4 separate regions of the Homo sapiens genome follow, and all the other regions are linked to region 2. The links are contacts of gene promoters, found by promoter capture Hi-C in blood cells and fetal thymus (Javierre and others, 2016). All regions are on one chromosome and are shown on one strand. Each heading gives the region's core, a stretch centred on a gene start or on the middle of the fragment in contact. The rest is flanking DNA. Distances are from core to core; before and after follow the strand shown. Region 1 has its middle 12 kb from the start of CYB5D1. Region 2 holds the start of GUCY2D (guanylate cyclase 2D, retinal). Region 3 overlaps DNAH2 (dynein axonemal heavy chain 2). Region 4 overlaps DNAH2 (dynein axonemal heavy chain 2).

Region 1 (4,504 bases), core at 1,606-4,105, 130 kb after region 2:
CCTATAATCCCAGCACTTTGCGAGGCCGAGGTGGGCGGATCACAAGGTCAGGAGTTCAAGACCAGCCTGACCGACATGGTGAAACCCCGTCTCTATTAAAAATACAAAAATTAGCCGGGCGTGGTGGCGCATGCCTGCAATCCCAGCTACTCAGGAGGCTAAGGCAGGAGAATCACCTGAACGCGGAGGTTGCAGTGAGCCAAGATTGTGCCACTGCACTCCAGCCTGGGCAACAGAGCGACTCCGTCTCAAAAAACAAAACAAAACAAAAAATGTAATTCTGCTCAATTCAGCAAGACCAAAAAATTTTTTAGAGAACTAGAATGAGATATAAAAAGTGTGGGTGAATATTTTCCTGATCTTGGGGGTGAAAAAGGCCTTAAGCGTACAACAAGCATCAACGTGGATGCTTTAAAGGAAAACGTGGATAGATTTAACTCAATGAAACTAAATTTTACTGTGTAAGAAAACATAAAGTTAAAAGACTAGCTAGGAAAATATTTGTGCCATTAATGACAGACCATTTTATTCAGTAAATACTGTGTGCTCTAATAGAGCTCAGAGATAACAGAAACTACTCTAGCTCAGAAAGATACTTTATCCAGGAAACCAGGGCTTACAAAATTATTGGAAGGGCCAAAGAAGAACTACAGACAGGGTTTCCAGAGTGACAAGAAGATTGTAAGGACAGGCTTGGTGGCTCACGCCTGCCATCCCAGCACTTTGGGAAGCCGAGGTGGGTGGGTCACTTGAGGTCAGGAGTTCGAGACCAGCCTGGCCAACGTGGTGAAACCCCATCACTACTAAAAATACAAAAAATAGCCAGGCATCATGGTGCGTGCTTGTATTCCCAGCTACTCGGAAAGCTGAGGCAGGAGAATTGCTTGAACTCGGGAGGCGGAGGTTGCAATGAGCCAAGATTGCACCACTGCACTCCAGCCTGGGCGACAGAGTGACTCCACCTCAAAGAAAGAAGAACGTTTTAGACCTGGCCCACCAGAGATCTACTTCCTATTTCTTCAGTGATCAAGAAGCTGCTGGGGTCGGGTACTGGCTCCAGGATTACTCCAGTATTGTATTACAGCAGGAGTAAGGGGGTATAAAGGAAGATAGCGAGCTAGTGTTTGTATTCTTGATGAAATAAAGATGTCATAGAAATCAACAATAAGAAAAAGACCAATAGAAAAAAAATACAAAAGTAGTAAAGTATATGTACAAAAGATGAACAATAGGATGATGATTGCTGACTTTTATTGAGTTTTACTCTGCATCCAGGAACTAAGTACTTAATATGTACTAACTCACTCACTCCTTTCAATAACCTTATAAAGTAGAAAGTATCCTAATACTCATTTTACAGATGAGAAAACAGACAAAGGGAGGTTAAATATCTTGCTCAAGGTCAGAGCTATTGAGAGGTGGGCATTTATGCCTAAACTCATGGACCACAGTAGACCTGAAAAAAGAAAATTAGATGATGTGATGGCTCAAGAATTGGACATTGTTAATAGCAATTGAGAAAGAAGCTGGCTTTAAGAGGCCATAATGAATTTGTTTCTAGATGTGCTTAGCTCGATATGATGGTGTGGCATCTTTTTAGAAAAATAATTTCTGGTTGGGTGTGGTGGTTCACACCTGTAATCTCCACACTTTGGGAAGCTGGGGTGGGTGGATCACTTGAGCCCAGGAGTTCAAGATCAGCCTGGGCAACATAGTGAGACCCCGTTTCTACAATTTTTTTTTTTTTTTTTGAGGTGGAGTCTTGCTCTGTCGCCCCCAAGCTGGAGTGTAGTGACACGATCTCGGCTCACCGAAACCTCCACCTCCCAGGTTCAAGCAATTCTCCTGCCTCAGCCTCCCGAGTAGCTGGGATTACAGGCGTGCACCACTGCACTGGGCTAATTTTTGTGTATTTTTTTTAGTAGAGACCGGGTTTCACCATGTTGGCCAGGCTGGTCTTGAACTCCTGACCTCAGGTGATCTGCCCACCTCGGCCACCCAGAGTGCTGGGATTACAGGCGTGAGCCACCGTGCCTGGCCAAAATAAATAAATTTTAAAATAGAAGTAACTCAACTTCTGAGCTATGGAATAGTTCTCTGTACCTCCAGTACCTAATAAAGAACCCAAATACTGCAATATATCTTTTCGATTAAAAGATTTTTTGTTTTTTAATTGATTAAAAGATTTTATCTGGTCTGCTCATCCTTCTATTGCTGCCTTTTAGCTAAATCCATTTCCTTGCTCTCACTGAGTAAGGAATATCATCTTAATCAGAAGGAGGAAGATGTAAGCCTAAAATTGTTGTAATTGTTGTCTTTGCCTTCTGCAAGTTTTTTAGATCTGCTTTTAAAAATTTATTTTATTTTATTTTATTTTTAAGACAGAGTCTTCCTCTGTCACCCAGGCTGGAGTGCAGTGGCATGATCTCAGCTCACTGCAGTAACTGCCTCCCAGGCTCAAGCAATCCTCCCACCTCAGCTTCTGGAGTAGCTGGGGTTACAAGCACAGGGGCCACCATGCCCAGCTGTAGATCTTCTTCGATTGACCACTGTGATGGAAACTGAATAATCCTATACAAAATGGCAAAAACCAAACTTTTTCCCATTTGACATTGCTTTTTAACAATTTCTTAATAGTTTTCTGTTGGCTGGCCAGCTAGAAGTATCTTGCTTTTCATCTGTTTTCAAGCCCCAGTTGTTCCAGCAGAATTGCACACTTTTCCCAGCTGATTAACTATCCTTTAGGTTATAAATTTGTCATGGGAAATGCTAACCCACACTGGCTTCCTCTTACCCCTTCACTTGCTCTTGGGCCCTTTCACCATCTAGCACTCCAGTCTGTAAAGGAAAATATTTTTTTTTCTTTTCTTTTTTTTGGAGACGGAGTCTTGCTCTGTCACCCGGGCTGGAATGCAGTGGTGTGATCTCGGCTCACTGCAACCTCTGCCTCCCGGGTTGAAGCGATTCTCCTGCCTTAGCCTTCCAAGTAGCTGGGATTACAGGCATCCACCACCACACCCAGCTAATTTTTTATATTTTTAGTAGAGACAGGGTTTCACCATGTTGGCCAGGCTGGTCTTGAACTCCTGACCTGAAGTGATCCACCCGCCTCGGCCTCCGAAAGTGCTGGGATTATAGGCATGAGCCACCGCACTCGACTGAGCATCATTTTTATTTCAGACTGAATGAGATATAATTAATACATTAAAAATCAACTTATTCTATATTCCAAAACTGTAGAACTCCTAAAATGTATCCCAGAGTCAATAATAAAGTTATCCACTCACTTCATTAGAGGAAGAGTTTGAGCTTTGGTGTCAGAAAGGTAGCACCTGGAATCCAAGCTCTGCCACTTAATAACTATGACCCTGGGCAAGCTATTTATCCCTCAAGTCTCAGCTCCTCCATCTGTAAAATGGTGTATTAATGCCTATCTCAAAGGGTTGTGGTGAGGTTTAAGTGAGCTAACTTACATAAAGCACTGGCTGTAATAAGGTACTCGATAATTGGTAGCTGCATTCTAAACCATCAAGTTTACTGTTAGCCACTTCTCTCTTCAGAGGTTCACTTAAGATGACTGCAAGGTGAGAAGATTCACAACCTGAGTTACGAGCTTAAGCACCTTAAAATCCTTTAGGAGCAAAGGACTGACTTTAGTTACTCTTCTCCCAGTAGTTGGCCCCATTCCCTTGCTTTCCATCACTGTATAAAGAAGCTCAATTCTGGCATGATATGAAACAAACCATATTTTACTTGACTCAAAAACTTCTCCTAATGGAGGAATAAACACTATTGTTAGGTTGGAAACTGAATGTTAGTCACAGATACGGTCTGTAATTTTCTAATCATGAGAGATGTTACCTGGATGCTGAAAAATGCCAAATCTCAAAATCCTGAGGGGAGGATTCATTACTAAATAAAGAATGGCTAGCACAAGGAATGGGAAAGAAAACTAAGGTTTTCTGAGTGTCTTTTCCAAGGACTCTTTATAGTGCTGGGCAGGTTCCCATTCCTTATTTAATCTTCTCAACAACACTATAAGGTAGCATCTTTTTAGGGTACCATGTCCTGGGTCTTGCCTGTTGCCCTACTGTCATCTTACTTTCTATTATCTGTATTTTATGGTTGAAGAAATGGAATCCAAAGGAAGGTATTTAAATATTCTGTGCATGGTTATAAAGCCAGAACACTCCTCCTTTCTGCAGTTAGATTTCTTCTAAGAATATCCCATGCATACCTTGTCCAACTGCAGCCTGGCTTCTCTAACAAAGCCACCATGACCTGCTGTTTGCTGAATCCATGGTCGCTCAGGTCTTCATCTTACGTGACCTCTGTGCAGCACTTTATACTGTTGGCCGCTCCCCTCTCTTCTGTGCTCTCTCTTTGGCTTCTGTGGCAACATTTCCTGCTTGGCCTCTTTCACCCTCTAGCTCTTCCTTTGTGGTGTCCTTTTCTCCTCCCCAAACCTCTGTAGATTGCACTTCGTCCTTAAGGGGATCTGATC
Region 2 (4,725 bases), core at 1,266-3,765:
AATTCAAGGAATCAAGGGTGACTCACACGCTCAGAGGCTTGCGCAGTTTGGGCAGTGGAGAGGACTGCTGTGGTACTTACTGAGAGCTGAAGGGCTTTTCTCTCTCTACTTTCTCAACCTCCCTCTCTCCACTGACCGACCCTCCCTCCATCCCATCTCATTATGATTCCTATCTTGTATTCTCTTCTGACTATTCCCATCACTGCACCCCTCCCCCCTCCATTGGACACCTCCAATCCTCTTGGAAGAATCTAGGGGCATCGATGGGAAATTGCAACCCCTACGACCCTTCTCTCATGCAGCCGCCTGTGAGTTGGACCTTTGTGGTGGTTAATTCACTGCCCGTTGACATCTAAATTCCCTTCTCATAGTGGTTTCTAGTCCCCCTTTGTGGCGGGAGTAAAGTTAGATGATCTGAACTGGGATTCTGGGGACTTGGGGATCCCTAGGTATTAGCTGGATGTTGGAAATACACTATGGATCTGGTTAGGATTGCCCCTGAATCCACCCAGGGAACTTTCTGCTTCTTGCAAGGTGTCTAGGCCCTTGAAAAGCTAAGACCACCAGATGAGGCCCCAGAGGAAATACCTCTGAACTAGGGATGAAGGTTGGATTGGCATCCTCCCTCCTTCCTGCTTTCAAGAACACCAAGTATTTATTTTAGACAGCTGGGAGTATGTGGTGGTGGAAACGGGTTTACTTTGAAGCCAATTGCAAAAGGTTTTGCAGTTTACAGTTCATTAGAGTTTACTGCTTGATGTTGGACTTGAGAGGTCGAATTGCCTACTCTCTAGAGGCAATCCTCGTACACTAAGAGACCCCAAGTGGGGCCAGAGCCTCTACATTACCCAGGAAACTCCAAACAGCTAGAGCTGCCAGTGGTTCTTTCTCCATTGGCTGCATCCTCCTCTCCCTGCTTTGGCTGTCCTCTCCCCTCTCCCTTGCCTTCTTCCCTCCTCCCGGGACCGTCTACCTGCTGCAGATTGAGGTCAGAGGGCAGCTCGCGGCGCTCTTGAGCCCTGCGCAGGCTGTCCAGCACGCTGCCTTCAGAGGGACAGTGGCGCGTGAGGGTGAGCACGGCATCGTGGGCCCTGCGAAGCTGGGAGCTGTTGGCGAGTGCGGCCAAGGCCTCCGGGCCTGGGGACAAGGCGTAGTGGATCGTGTCGAAGGGCAGGAAGACCAGGGAGCCATCGGTCAGGCCCAGCTCCTCTGCGGCCTCCAGGAGGTAGCGCTGCTCCTCGCCACCCAGCAGCACCGAGTGCATCACCATGATCACTGCTGCGGACAGAGGCTTGGCTCGCGGCGCCGTCCGGCTGCCGGCAGGACCAGCCGACCTCCTCGCACCCTGCAAGGGAGCCTACCTGTGACCCTGGGCCCGTCCCGAACCTTCCTCAGGGCCTCCCGGGCTCCAGACAGGTCCAAGGGCTCCATGGAAGTCACGGAGGCGACAGGCAGGCCCCGGGCCCTGAGTGCCGTGGACAGTGAGCGTCCCGCCTCCACCCACAGGTCCTGGGGGGCGGTGACCAGGGCCACGCGCGCCCAGCCGAATGCGCGAAGCAGGGCGTAGAGGGCATCCGCGGCGGGGGTCACGGCAGGGGCCGTGGTGCCCTCCGCCTGCGTCCAGGGGCAGCCCCAGGGCACCAGCGCGATCCCGGCTTCTTCGGCGAGCAGCTCGGCTGGCCGGCAGGCCGCAGGGTTCACCGGACCCACGAGGCCCGACACGCGGGCCAGCGCGGAGGACACGGCCCCCAGCGAGCCCGGCGTCCGGCAAGGCTCGGGCAGCAGCGCTACCTCGAAGCGGGGACCGCCTGCCAGGCCGGGGTCGCGGTTCAGGCGGGCGGCGGCCAGGCGGGCGGCCAGGTCCGGGCGAGCCCGAGAGAAGATGGGGTCGCAAGCCCAGGGGCCCAGGACCCCCACCGTGAACACGGCGGAGAGGGCGGGGGGCTGCAGCAGAAGCAGGAGCAGCAGGAGCGGGAGCCGGGGCAGGGCCCGGGGGAGGCGGGGCAGGGACGGAGCCCACCACGCGGGACCGCAGAGCCCGGGGTCCGGAAGCCCACCCGCTCGGCGGGCGCAGGCGGTCATTGCCGGCTTCTGCGAACACAGACGGAGCAGGCTGAGCGACTGAGACCCCGGCCTCCCCTAGGGTTCTCCCCGTAACCCCGAGTTTCTCCAAGCCCGAGTAACCCATGGGATGATTCTGCTGCTACCGCCCCCTCCGGAGGCTGGGAAGACTAACTGGGGCCAAGGACACCGCCCCGAAGCCCCCTTCTGCCGCCCCGGCTTCCCGCTCCCACCCGGCCTGCCCCTCCCCCCGTCGGAGGCGTCAGGGGTCAGCAGGGACTCGCCTGCGCCCTCAGACCGACCCTATCCCAGCGGAGGGGCCTCTGACATTTACAGGGAAGTCCGGGGGCTCGGGCCCACGGCCCCCGGTGAGGGGTCACAGGGCCGGTCCCCCTTTTGACGCCCGCCCACAGGTCTTCCTTGCCAGCCCAGGCCAGGGCGGGGGCGTGGGTACAGCCGGCCAGAGCCCTTAATCTCCCCAAGCTGATTAGGGTCCTTAATTAGGTAGGGAGGGGCGGGCTAGTGGAGGATGAGAGCCCCTACTGCGCCTTTCTGGGGTGGGATCTGTCCTGGCTTCCAGGTAGTCAGCCAGATCCTTTCCCCTCCATGCCTTCCAGCCCCCCACATCACCCTCATCACCACCACCCCTGCACAAAAGCAGCCGCAGCTTCCCCTTTCAGCCGTCGGCCACACTGCCCTGCTCAGCCAGAAAGTAACAAGTGCCTGCCCGTGGACAGCTGTGGGTAATCCGTCCTGGAGAAGAAACACTGATCCCAGTCCCTTTCCTTACAATCTTCTGTTTCCAGTTCTGCCAGCTAAGTTCAAGCTCCATCCTTTGGCTGGCAAAGTCTATATCCCAGAGACCAAACCCACACCAAGCTGACACCTGCCTTTCTTCTTTCACTTCTCTTCTCTCTCTCGCCACACTTGATTCCCTGACCTCTGCTTCTCCATGCCTAGAAAACCACCCTCAGGAAGTAATGAAAAGAGCTTTGGCCTCCGACAGACCTGGGTTCCAAGTCCCTCTTGCTGATTTTTGGACCTTGGGCAATTGCTTAATCTGAGGGTTGTTGTGAAAATGAATATAATTGCCCGGATGGCAAGAATAGCTAACAATTTTAGAGAAGAGTATAATGGAAGATGCCCTATAAGATATACAAATTTATTATAAAGCAATAGCAATTATGTATTTATGTAAATATATAATATATAAAACATAGCAATTATATATCTACATAAATATATAATATATAAAACATAGCAATTATATATTTATATAATTATATGATATATAAAACAGCAATTATATAAATATATACTATAAAGCTATAGCAATTATATATTATATATTTATATAAATCCACATTATGTAGTGACAGCAATTATATATTTATATAAATATATATTATAAAGCTATGGCAATAAAGACTTCATAGTTTTGGCACAAGGATAAACAAATGGACCAATGAAATAGAATATACAGTACTGAAACAAACACAGCAAATGTGTGAAGACGTGGACATTTCTTACCAACTGGGAAAGAATAAACTTCAACAAATGGAGCTGATTAGCCATCTGGGGGGAAAATAGAATTCAATCCCTATCTCACACCATACACAAAATCTATTCCAGGTCAAAGACCTATATGTGAAAAATAAAACTTAAAAACTTTTAAATGAATCATTTTCAGACTTGGTGGCAAAGATTGGATCAGGTAAGAATCATCAGTGGATTCTAAAGCTGGGGGAAATGTTGGATGAGGAGCAGAACTTTTGCAGGGTCTGAAAGTATCTCCCTCCAGATTGCCATGAGTTGGAAGGGAGTGGGGAATAAAATAAAAAGCAGTCATTGTACAGTGGAGAAATGGGGCAATACTTTAAGCAAGTGATCAAAATTAACCATGAGGGGCAGAGAGACATTCTTTGCCTCCAGATGTGATACCCTGAGAAGGACATAATACTACACCTATGCAGTGCTGCACAATACGTCTCGGCAATGTTCCAGCATTATTTCAAATCTAATCACAAGGAAACATAAGATAAACACTAAATGAGAAACGTTCTATTTAAAAAGGTGGGGAGGACTGCATTCTTCAAAAATGTCAATGTCATAGAAGGCAAATAGAGGTTGAGGAACTGTTTCAGATTAAAGAAACCTAAAAAGACATGACAATTATATGCAACACCTGCCCTTAGTTTGGATTCTGTATCATTGGATTTTTTTAAAGTGCTATAAGGTTATAGGGCTTGAGGCCGGGCACCGTGGCTCACGCCTATAATCCCAGCACTTTGGGAGGCCGAGGCAGGCGGATCACTTGAGGTCAGGAGTTTGAGACCAGCCTGGCCAACATGGTGAAGTCCCGTCTCTACTAAAAATACAAAAATTAGCCGCGGGTGGTGGAGTGCACCTGTAATCCCAGCTGCTCAGGAGGCTGAGGCAAGAGAATCACCTGAACCTGGGAAGCAGAGTTTGCAGTGAGCCAATATCGCGCCACTGCACTCCAGCCTAAGCAACAAAGTGAGACTCCATCTCAAAAAACAAAAAAAGAAAAGAAAAATGGTTATAGGGCGGCATGGGGTTATAAAAATGCTATAAAGAACATCAACATTAACAAAAAAATTGGCAATTGACAAAATTGGAATATCACAGGAGATTCAAAAGAGT
Region 3 (4,078 bases), core at 923-3,422, 250 kb after region 2:
GCTGAAGAGGACATGCTCCCGCGAAGAAAGCCATGCTCCACGCTCCAGGCAATTGTTGCCATCTGGAAATGTGGGCCCAGTGTGGATGCATTTTCTGATTTTTCAAGAGAGGCCAGAAATTGGTTTTTCATGTAAAATCTCCTGAATTTTAAGTGCTAACAACAATTCACCTGAAAAATAATTATTCAGTGGGCATGTGGGAGAGGCTCTAGGACTCCTGGCAATCCTTGACTTGGGCAGTAGTTTGCAAGGGTGTTTTATTTTGTTATTTTATAATGATTTGTTAGTTAAACTGAACATACAATTTTTTTTCTTTTTTGAGACGGAGTCTTGCTCTGTCACCCAGGCTGGAGTGCAGTGGCGCAATCTCAGCTCACTGCAAGCTCTGCCTCCCAGGTTCACGCCATTCTCCTGCCTCAGCCTCCTGAGTAGCTGGGACTACAGGCGCCCGCCACCACGCCCCGCTAATTTTTTGTATTTTTAGTAGAGACAGGGTTTCACCATGTTAGCCAGGATGGTCTCGATCTCCTGACCTCGTGATCCGCCCGCCTCGGCCTCCCAAAGTGCTGGGATTACAGGCGTGAGCCACCGCGCGCGGCCTGAACATACAAGTTTTACGTATATCTCTGTCTATGACAAGTTTCATAATAAAAATGTTTTTAAAGGAAAAAATGATTTTAAACATATTTGTAAAAGTTGCTAGGTACAAAATTAATTTATAAAAATCAAAGTTCTCAATACAAAAATTGTGACTAGGTAGATATTATCATCAAGAAAAAGAGACAATAACAATTAAAACAACAAAAATAAAATACCAAAAATTAATCAGAAATTGTGTGTGTGTGTGTGTGTGTGTGTGTGTGTGTGTAAAATGACTTAAGGGGAAAAGGCAGGACTTAAATAAATTGAAAGAAAAAACACTGTTGGCCAGGCCCGGTGGTTCACACCTGTAGTTTCAGCTACTTGGGGGGCTGAGGCGGAAGAGGATCAATAAGCCTGGGAGGTCCTAGCTGCAGTGAGCTGAGATCGTGTCACTGCACTCCAGCCTGCATGACAGAACAAGACTCAGTCTCAAAACACGCACACACACACACACACACACACACACCCCACAACTATTCTTGGAAAGACTCAAAATCATAAAGATATTCTTCTAAAGTTAACCTATAAATTTAACCAAATCTCTATTCCTATAAAAATAGGAATGAGACTATTTTTGGAACTAAACAAATTGATTCTAAAATTCTTATGGGAAATAAATATTAAATATAGCCTGGAAAACTCTGAAGAAAGAAGAGTAATGAGGACAATAATTAAAACAGTTTGGTTCCTGCACATGAATAGACAGATACCAGAATAGAGAATCCCAAAATAGACACGAATATACTCGGGAATGTGTTACTATAAAGATAGTAGTTCACTAAATGAGATTGGGTCAACTCTAAATGAGATGGCTCTAGCCATCAGGAAAAAACAAACAAACAATGAAATACAAAACTCAATTTGAATCTGCACCTCTTTCTCTACACCAAAATAAATTTCAAATGGATCAAACATCTAAATGTAGAGAATAAAATCATAAAATACCAGAAGAAAATATGGAATATTTTTTAAAATAAAATTAAAAAAAAATCTTGGCCTGGTGTGGTGGCTCATGCCTGTAAGTTCAGCATTTTAGAAGGCCAAGGTGGGTGGATCATTTCAGGTCAGGAGTTTGAGACCAGCCTGGCCAACATGGTGAAACCCCATCCCTACTAAAAATCCAAAAATTAGCCAGAAATCGCTTGAACCCAGGACGCAGAGGTTGCAGTCAGCCAAGATGGTGCCACTGTACTCCAGACTGGACAACAGGGCAAGACTCCCCCTCAAAAAAAAAATGAATAAATAAATAAATAAATAAATAAATAAATAACTTGATTTTTTTTAATCTGCAGGGCTTTTAAAATAAAATTGCACTTTTTAATCACAAAGGATAAACATTCCCACGACCTGAAGATATGCTCAAGAAACTTTGCATTCTAAATACTGCTGAAATGTTATTTGGAAAGAATATTGAGGTGAAAATTCTAGAATTTTTTTAGTCTTTTCTACACTGAATTAACAATATTGGAGATAATAACACATTTCAAACTTTGCAAAGGATTGTGTTTTTACCGTCTTTATTGGAGAAGAATCCTCCAAGAATGAAATGATTTTCAAGTGCTCACTTATTTGTGATACAGGCTTTAAGAGATTGTGGAAGAAGAAATGCTGTTTTTTCAAACCCTGAAGATCTCCACTAACGTATGTGGTATTTTTAAAACTGCTAAAATATCTTCAAAGTGAGTAAGCCTCTTGAAAGTATAAATGAGCAATGAATCACCAGGCATTTAAGGAAAGCCTCCAAAGTAAAAGAGAGAGGCCAAAGCCAAAGACAATTACTATAAATCGGCTAGAATTCCAAACCCAGCCAAATGTACAACAAGCAGAGGGCAGGAAAACAGTTGTCAATCATGCAAAAACTCAAAAGATTTACCTCCCCTGCACCATTTCTTAGGAAGCTACTAATGGATACACACCAACAAAACAAAGGCGTAAACCAAAAAAGAGGAAGACAAAGGAAACATGAAATCAAACAAGGAAAGAGGCTGAGGGAAGTCCCGGGGTAACTGCTTTGTAACAGGCCTTGAAAACAACACCAGCTGGACAGAAGCAGGAGGACAGGAAAAAAACAGATCTAAGAAAAACATTGAAACCAATACCCAGTATGTCAGATTGTGAGGAAAAATACTACTCAAAGGGATTTTATTGGTTGGTTTGGAGGACTTAGTGATAGTGAATGCTGCGCTAGCAAAAATAATGAGGTGGCCAGGCACAATGGCTCACACCTGTAATCCCAGCACTTTGGGAGGCTGAGGTGTGTGGATCACCTGAGGTAGGAGAATCGCTTGAACCTGGGAAGCAGAGCAGAGATCCTGGGCAACAGAGCGAAATTCCATCTCAAATAATAATAATAGTAATAACGATAATAATGAGGTAATTTTTCTTTTTTTGAGACAGAGTCTCGCTCTGTCGCCCAGGCTGCAGTGCAATGGCGTGATCTCAGCTCACTGCAACCTCTGCCTCCCGGGTTCAAGCGAGATTCTCCTGCCTCAGCCTCCTGAGTAGCTAGGATTACAGCCACCCGCCACCATGCCCAGCTATTTTTTGTATTTTTAGTATAGACGGGGTTTCACCATGTTGGCCAGGCTGGTCTCGAACTCCTGACCTCGTGATCCACCCACCTCAGCCTCCTGAAGTGCTGGGATTAGAGGCATGAGCCACCACACCTGGCCTAATAATGAGGCAATTTTAAATTCCAAATTGAGCAAAACATTGTACAAGCAAAAGAACTATAACAATGTAAAATTACTCAACTCAGCAGTGAACAATCCTAATAGAGTCATAATAAGATAAGCCCTAAACATCAATGTAACAAAAAGTTGTGTTATAATGATATGGGGAGATTGGAAGTGTGTGAATAGATACAGAAACATTTCTAGTAGCATAAACGTATTATCATGTCCTTCAAACTGGATGTCTTGGATTTGTCACTGTTGATAAACATCTGAGCAAGCCTACTTGGGCATGTATGCTGGCCAACATTGCACCAAAACAAATTCTTCATTCTCTCATCTTGGCAAGATTTTCTTTTTTCTTTCTTTTTTTTTTTTTTTTTTTTTTTTTTTTTTTTTTTTTTTTGGGGGGGAGTTTAGCTCTTGTTGCCCAGGCTGGAGTGCAATGGCGCAATCTCGGCTCACCACAACCTCTGCCTCCCAGGTTCAAGCAATTCTCTTGCCTCGGCCTCCTGAGTAGCTGGGATTACAGACGCTTGCCACCATGCCCGGCTAATTTTGTATTTTTAGTAGAGACAGGGTATCTCCATGTTGGTCAGGCTGGTCTCGAACTCCTGACCTCAGGTGATCCACCCACCTCGGCCTCCCAAAGTGCTGGGATTACAGATGCGAGCCACCGCATCCGGCCAAGGCAAGATTTTCAAGATAACTTTAAGGCAAATTATCCAAGTTTAATATGTCAGTCAACAGGATGAATTCAGACA
Region 4 (4,722 bases), core at 1,814-4,313, 230 kb after region 2:
TCACTATGTGTTCATCTTGCCGTGTGTTCATCCCTTTCTTCCCCATACCCTACCCCATCCCATGGCTGAAGGCTAGTTAATCTGCTAAAAGAAAGTCAACGTAGGCTGGGCTCAGTGTCCCACACCTGTAATCCCAGAACTTTGGGAGGCTGAGGGAGGTGAATCACCTGAGGTCAAGAGTTCAAGGCAGCCTGGCCAACTTGGTGAAACGCCATCTCTACTAAAAATAAAAAAATTAGCCAGAGGTAGTGGCACACGCTTGTATTCCCAGCTACTTGGGAGGCTGAAGCAGGAGAATCATTTGAACCCGGGAGGCAGAGATTGCAGTGAGCCGAGATCGCACCACTGCACTCCAGCCTGGGCAATGTGCAAAACTCTGTCTCAAAAAAAAAATTTTTTTTAATAAATAAATAAACTCATCTGACTGATTCCATATCCCATGCTCTTAACCACTACATTATTATACTCCACTCAAATATTTGTTGAGTTTAATTTACAGAATTATGATCTAATGCTTAGAAGAGGTGATGGAGATGGGAAATGTTAGGAGAGCTGGGGGCATCAGTCTTTTTAATAAATGAAGCACGCAACCATGACCAAGCAGAGTGCCTGCCGAGGCTGTGTCAGGGCAGGAGCCCTGGAGCTCTGACCTGGGTGATGGGTGCTCCGGAGAGCATTGTTGTCCTTGTTCATCCTGTCCATGATGGCTTTCCAGTTGCTGTTGACCTGGTCAAATAAGGTCGATTCATTGGGCAGCTGCTTGCGGATGTCTTCTCCTAGGAAGATATTCTGAGGGGGCCAAAAGTTGGGGTGAGAGGCCACTTCTTACACACTCTCCACCCTCTGCTCCCTGTTCCCAGATTGTGGGTGACAGTTGGGTAGAAGATACAGAGTGCTAGAAGTCAAAGGCCAAGATGCCCAAGTTCTACAAGGAAAGCTGGAGGTAGGGGGCCAGCTACCTGGGTCTAAGAAGAAAAATGGAAGAAAAATCTGAGAAGAACAAAAACTTGTTACGGAGGGAATCTAAGGTGAGAGGTAATAACTAAGAATCAGACAGCTGGGTCCTAGATGAAGAGTGACTTTAAAGGTAGGAGAATGAGGCTGATAACAGGGCAAAATCTAGGTCTTAAGAAAAAGAAGGAGTAAGAGCAGGAAGCAGGAAGAGCTCAGGCGCTGAGTCCTGACCTCTAAGTACATCCACTGACGCTGCACTGTGAGAATCATCTCAATAACCTCCAAAATGAGGGAGAGGCAGCGTTCCCAGTGGTCCACATCCTTCTCAAAGGCCTTGACAAAGCGTGATGCCTTCATGGTAGACAGAGCTACCTGGTTATCTTCCAGTGCCTGGAATACTTCTTCTGTACCTCTGAGACACAAGGGGTCAAAATCATAGTTCATCCCCACCTGCCCAACCTTGGTCCCACTCTGCAGCCTGGGTCACACAGCCCTCCATTCTCCTAGAGCCCCAGCTCCCCTGACCTGAGCCGATGATGGCCCTTATCCTTGTAGGGTACTATGTCGAGCTGAGTCACATCCCAGGTCTTGGCAATGTTTTGTAAAGCCTGTGGAGAGAAATTGGGGGACACAGCAGTCAGGTATCTCTTCACTAAGGGGAACAGGAGCTGAGAGGCGCCATCAGATGATGAACAGCTGGAGCCTGTGCTCCAGGAGGCGCAGGAGGTGTGGGAGCATGGGAGGGGACTGTCGTACCACTTCTATAGCCAGCTCTTTAGTTGCTGAAGCAGAGATCTCCCCAATTTTCTCCACATGCTGATCCATCCCAAGCTCCACAATCTGCTCCAAGGTGAAGCTTTCAGATTCCTGATCAAACTCCCGCTGGATCTCATCCCGGACCTGGTCCCAGTGCCTGCAGCCAGGAACAGGAGGGTGTGAGGTCAGGAGAGTTACCATCACTCCATTGCTGTCTCCCACTGGGACACTATGATTCTGCATAGTTACCAATTCATGATTCAACTCATTTTGCTAAACAGGCTCGAAGATGCAATCTTAGGCACCAGGGGAATACGAAGATTGAGGTGAAACCCTCCAGGAGTGGATTCTCTGGAGAGGAAGTTAAGGCAGGTGTGCCCACAAAACACACAATGAATCACCGCAGGTTTACTCTAGAACTGTACTGAGTAAAGGCCTTACATGAAACATCTCATATCATTCTCACGGCTACTCTATAAATTAGGAATTATTATTATTCCATTTACAGATGAGAAAACTGAGGCTTAGAGAGGTTAAATAATGTAAGCAAATAAAGTGGTTAGGTTATACATAACCGTATAACACTTAATGGTTTGGCATTGCCAAAAACGTTATACTGGAAGAAAGACAAAGAAGTAAAATTATTTTCTCTTAAATGGATAGATCATGATTGAAACACCATTTATAAAAATTACTTTATTTTTATAAATCTATCCCCAATGGTTTGAGATACATCCTCTGCCATATAATAAATTCCAGATGAATTAAAAGAGTTAAACCTGAGAAACACAAAGCATTAGAGGAAAGAATGAAGAGGATGTATTTGTAACTTTGGGATAGGAAAGGTCTTCCTAAACAAGGCACAAAGGCAAAAACCATACAGAAAGAAAGTTATACTTCTGGCTACCTCAAAATAAAATCTTTTGTATAACAAAAGACATAAGGCGGGACGGGCACGGTGGCTCATGCCTGTAATCCCAGCACTTTGGGAGGCCAAGGCGAGCGGATCACTTGAGGCCAGGAGTTCAAGACCATCTTGGGCAACATGGCAAAACCCCATCTCTACTAAAAATACAAAAATTAGCAGAGCATGGTGGCAGGTGCCTGTAATCCCAGCTACTTGGGAGGCTGAGGCACAAGAATTGCTTGAACCCGCGAGGTGAAGGTTACAGTGAGCCGAGATCACAGCACTGCACCCCAGCCAGGGCAACAGAGTGAGACTTTGTCTCCCCCACAAAAAAAGGAAAAAAAAAGACATAAGACTTAGTCATGATAGACAACTCCCTTTCAGAGAGAGGGAGGCCCCAGGGCAGGGGTCAGAGAACAAGAAGCCAGCAAGGCTGGATGACCCGAGACAGTGCAAGAAGCAGAGGACAGTGGCAGGCTTGGTGTCTGCGCCACATGTTCGCTGAGCACTATTTGCAATAGCTAAGATGTGGAATCACCCTAAGTGTCCATCAAGCGATGAATGGAGGATGAAAATGTGGTGTATATATACAAAGAAATACTCTTCAGCCTCAGGAAAGAAGAAAATCCTGTCATTTGCAACAACATGGAAGAACCTGGAGGACATTATGCTAAGCGAAATAAGCCAGGCGAAGAAAGACAAACACCGCATGATCGCACTCATATGTCATATGTAAAGTCTGAACAGGTTGAACTCACAGAAGCAGAGTCGAGTGCTGGTTACCAGGGGCTGGGGGTGGTAGGTGGAAAGTTCGGGAGGTGTTGGTCAAAGGACACAAAATTTCAGTTAGACAAGAGGGATGATCTCCTGTACATCACGGCAACAATGGTTAATAACAATCTATTGTATACTTGAAAATCACTGAGAGTAGCTTTTCAGTACTCTCACTACAAAAAATAGGTATGTGAGGTAATGCATATGATAATTAGCTCAATTTAGCCATTCTACAATGTGTACATATTTCAAAACATTATGCTGTACACCAAAGTGTATGCAATTTTCATGCGTCCATCAAAATTAAATGTTAAAAAGAGGAAAGAGAAAAAGACATACATTTGTGGACAGAGGGGAAGAGAGGGCTGTGAACACTGCGGAGAGGAGAATGGGAGGGACCAAGTGGTGGCGCAGGCCAGCGGGGCAGAGTGGACACCCCGGAGCAGAGGAGAAGCCTCACCTCTCTCTAAGGGCAGGGTTCCGCAGGTCTGAGATGAGAGGCATGGTCCTCTTGAACTGCTCTATTTTTGAGCGAGTGGTTTCAATAATTTCCCAGTTTCGGTCCTGAGCAAAAGTTGGGGGCATGAGAAGACCCGACGACCTCCCTGGGAACAGACCCAGATCCTCCACCAGCTTCTCTTCCGCCTCCCCGCCGTTTCTCCCCACCTTATACTCTTTGGCTAATTTTGTGAGGCGACGAAACAGCCCGTGGGCCGTGGTCTCCATGGTTTCCGTCTGCAGGATCAGGAACCGGCCAGTCTTCCACTCATTCCAGTTCTCCTCCCAGTCTCGTGCGATCTCCCAGATTTGCTGGAGGGCATCGAGCTCCTACAGGGCAGAAAGGCGCGTTGCATGAAGTGGCACCTGCCCTCTTCCTCCCTGACGGACGCCCAGGCCCTTCGCTGCTCTCGCTCTGTGAAGCTTCCCCTCTAGATAATACAGCGGCCTCCTCAGTCCACATATTTTTCTCCACTCTGTTGCCTTAAGAGCTTATCAAGGAACAAGCACATGAAAAAATCCTCAATGTCATGAGTCATTAGGGAAATGCAAATCAAAACCTCAGTGGGATGCCACTTCACACCCGCTAGGATGGCTAGAACCAAAAAAAAAAAAAAAAAGGTAAATAAGTGTTGGCACGGAGATATGGAGAAATAGGGAGACTTGTACACTGCTAGTGGGAATGTGAAACGGTGCAGCTGCTGTGGAAAATGGCTTGGCAGCTCCTCAAAAAGTTAAACATAGAGTTTCCATATGATCTAGCAATTCCACCCCTAGGCTTACACTCACAAGAATAGGGAACAGGTGTTCAGACAAATACAAGTACACGCGTG

Evidence for each region. Contacts are between HindIII fragments. The CHiCAGO score rates a contact against its expected background, and 5 or more counts as called.
Region 1: a contact is called between a fragment that was not itself captured here and the fragment with the promoter of GUCY2D in region 2, in 4 of 17 cell types (M2 macrophages, activated CD4 T cells, erythroblasts and 1 more). The highest score is 6.0, in M2 macrophages.
Region 3: a contact is called between a fragment that was not itself captured here and the fragment with the promoter of GUCY2D in region 2, in 3 of 17 cell types (erythroblasts, activated CD4 T cells and naive B cells). The highest score is 8.5, in erythroblasts.
Region 4: a fragment that was not itself captured here is called in contact with the fragment with the promoter of GUCY2D in region 2 in 2 of 17 cell types (activated CD4 T cells and endothelial precursors); the score reaches 5.5 in activated CD4 T cells.

Annotation. Positions count from the first base shown.
Region 1 is chr17:7,868,136-7,872,639 of GRCh38, reverse strand. It overlaps a transcript of NAA38 not described here. Among named protein-coding and RNA genes, the nearest start is that of CYB5D1, 12 kb to the right of the region's middle. The HindIII fragment of the contact is 6,423 bases long and covers 1-4,504 here.
Region 2 is chr17:8,000,405-8,005,129 of GRCh38, reverse strand. It overlaps GUCY2D (guanylate cyclase 2D, retinal), which reads right to left and starts at 2,515. Exons shown (of 20, transcript NM_000180.4): 1 at 2,396-2,515; 2 at 1,362-2,091; 3 at 974-1,278. The coding sequence starts at 2,082. The HindIII fragment of the contact is 12,410 bases long and covers 1-4,725 here.
Region 3 is chr17:7,748,951-7,753,028 of GRCh38, reverse strand. The region is part of intron 12 of DNAH2 (dynein axonemal heavy chain 2); the gene reads right to left. Among named protein-coding and RNA genes, the nearest start is that of DNAH2, 33 kb to the right of the region's middle. The HindIII fragment of the contact is 7,689 bases long and covers 1-4,078 here.
Region 4 is chr17:7,767,397-7,772,118 of GRCh38, reverse strand. DNAH2 (dynein axonemal heavy chain 2) reads right to left here. Exons shown (of 86, transcript NM_020877.5): 23 at 4,058-4,219; 24 at 3,852-3,955; 25 at 1,711-1,867; 26 at 1,480-1,562; 27 at 1,186-1,366; 28 at 651-789. Among named protein-coding and RNA genes, the nearest start is that of DNAH2, 52 kb to the right of the region's middle. The HindIII fragment of the contact is 2,502 bases long and covers 1,813-4,314 here.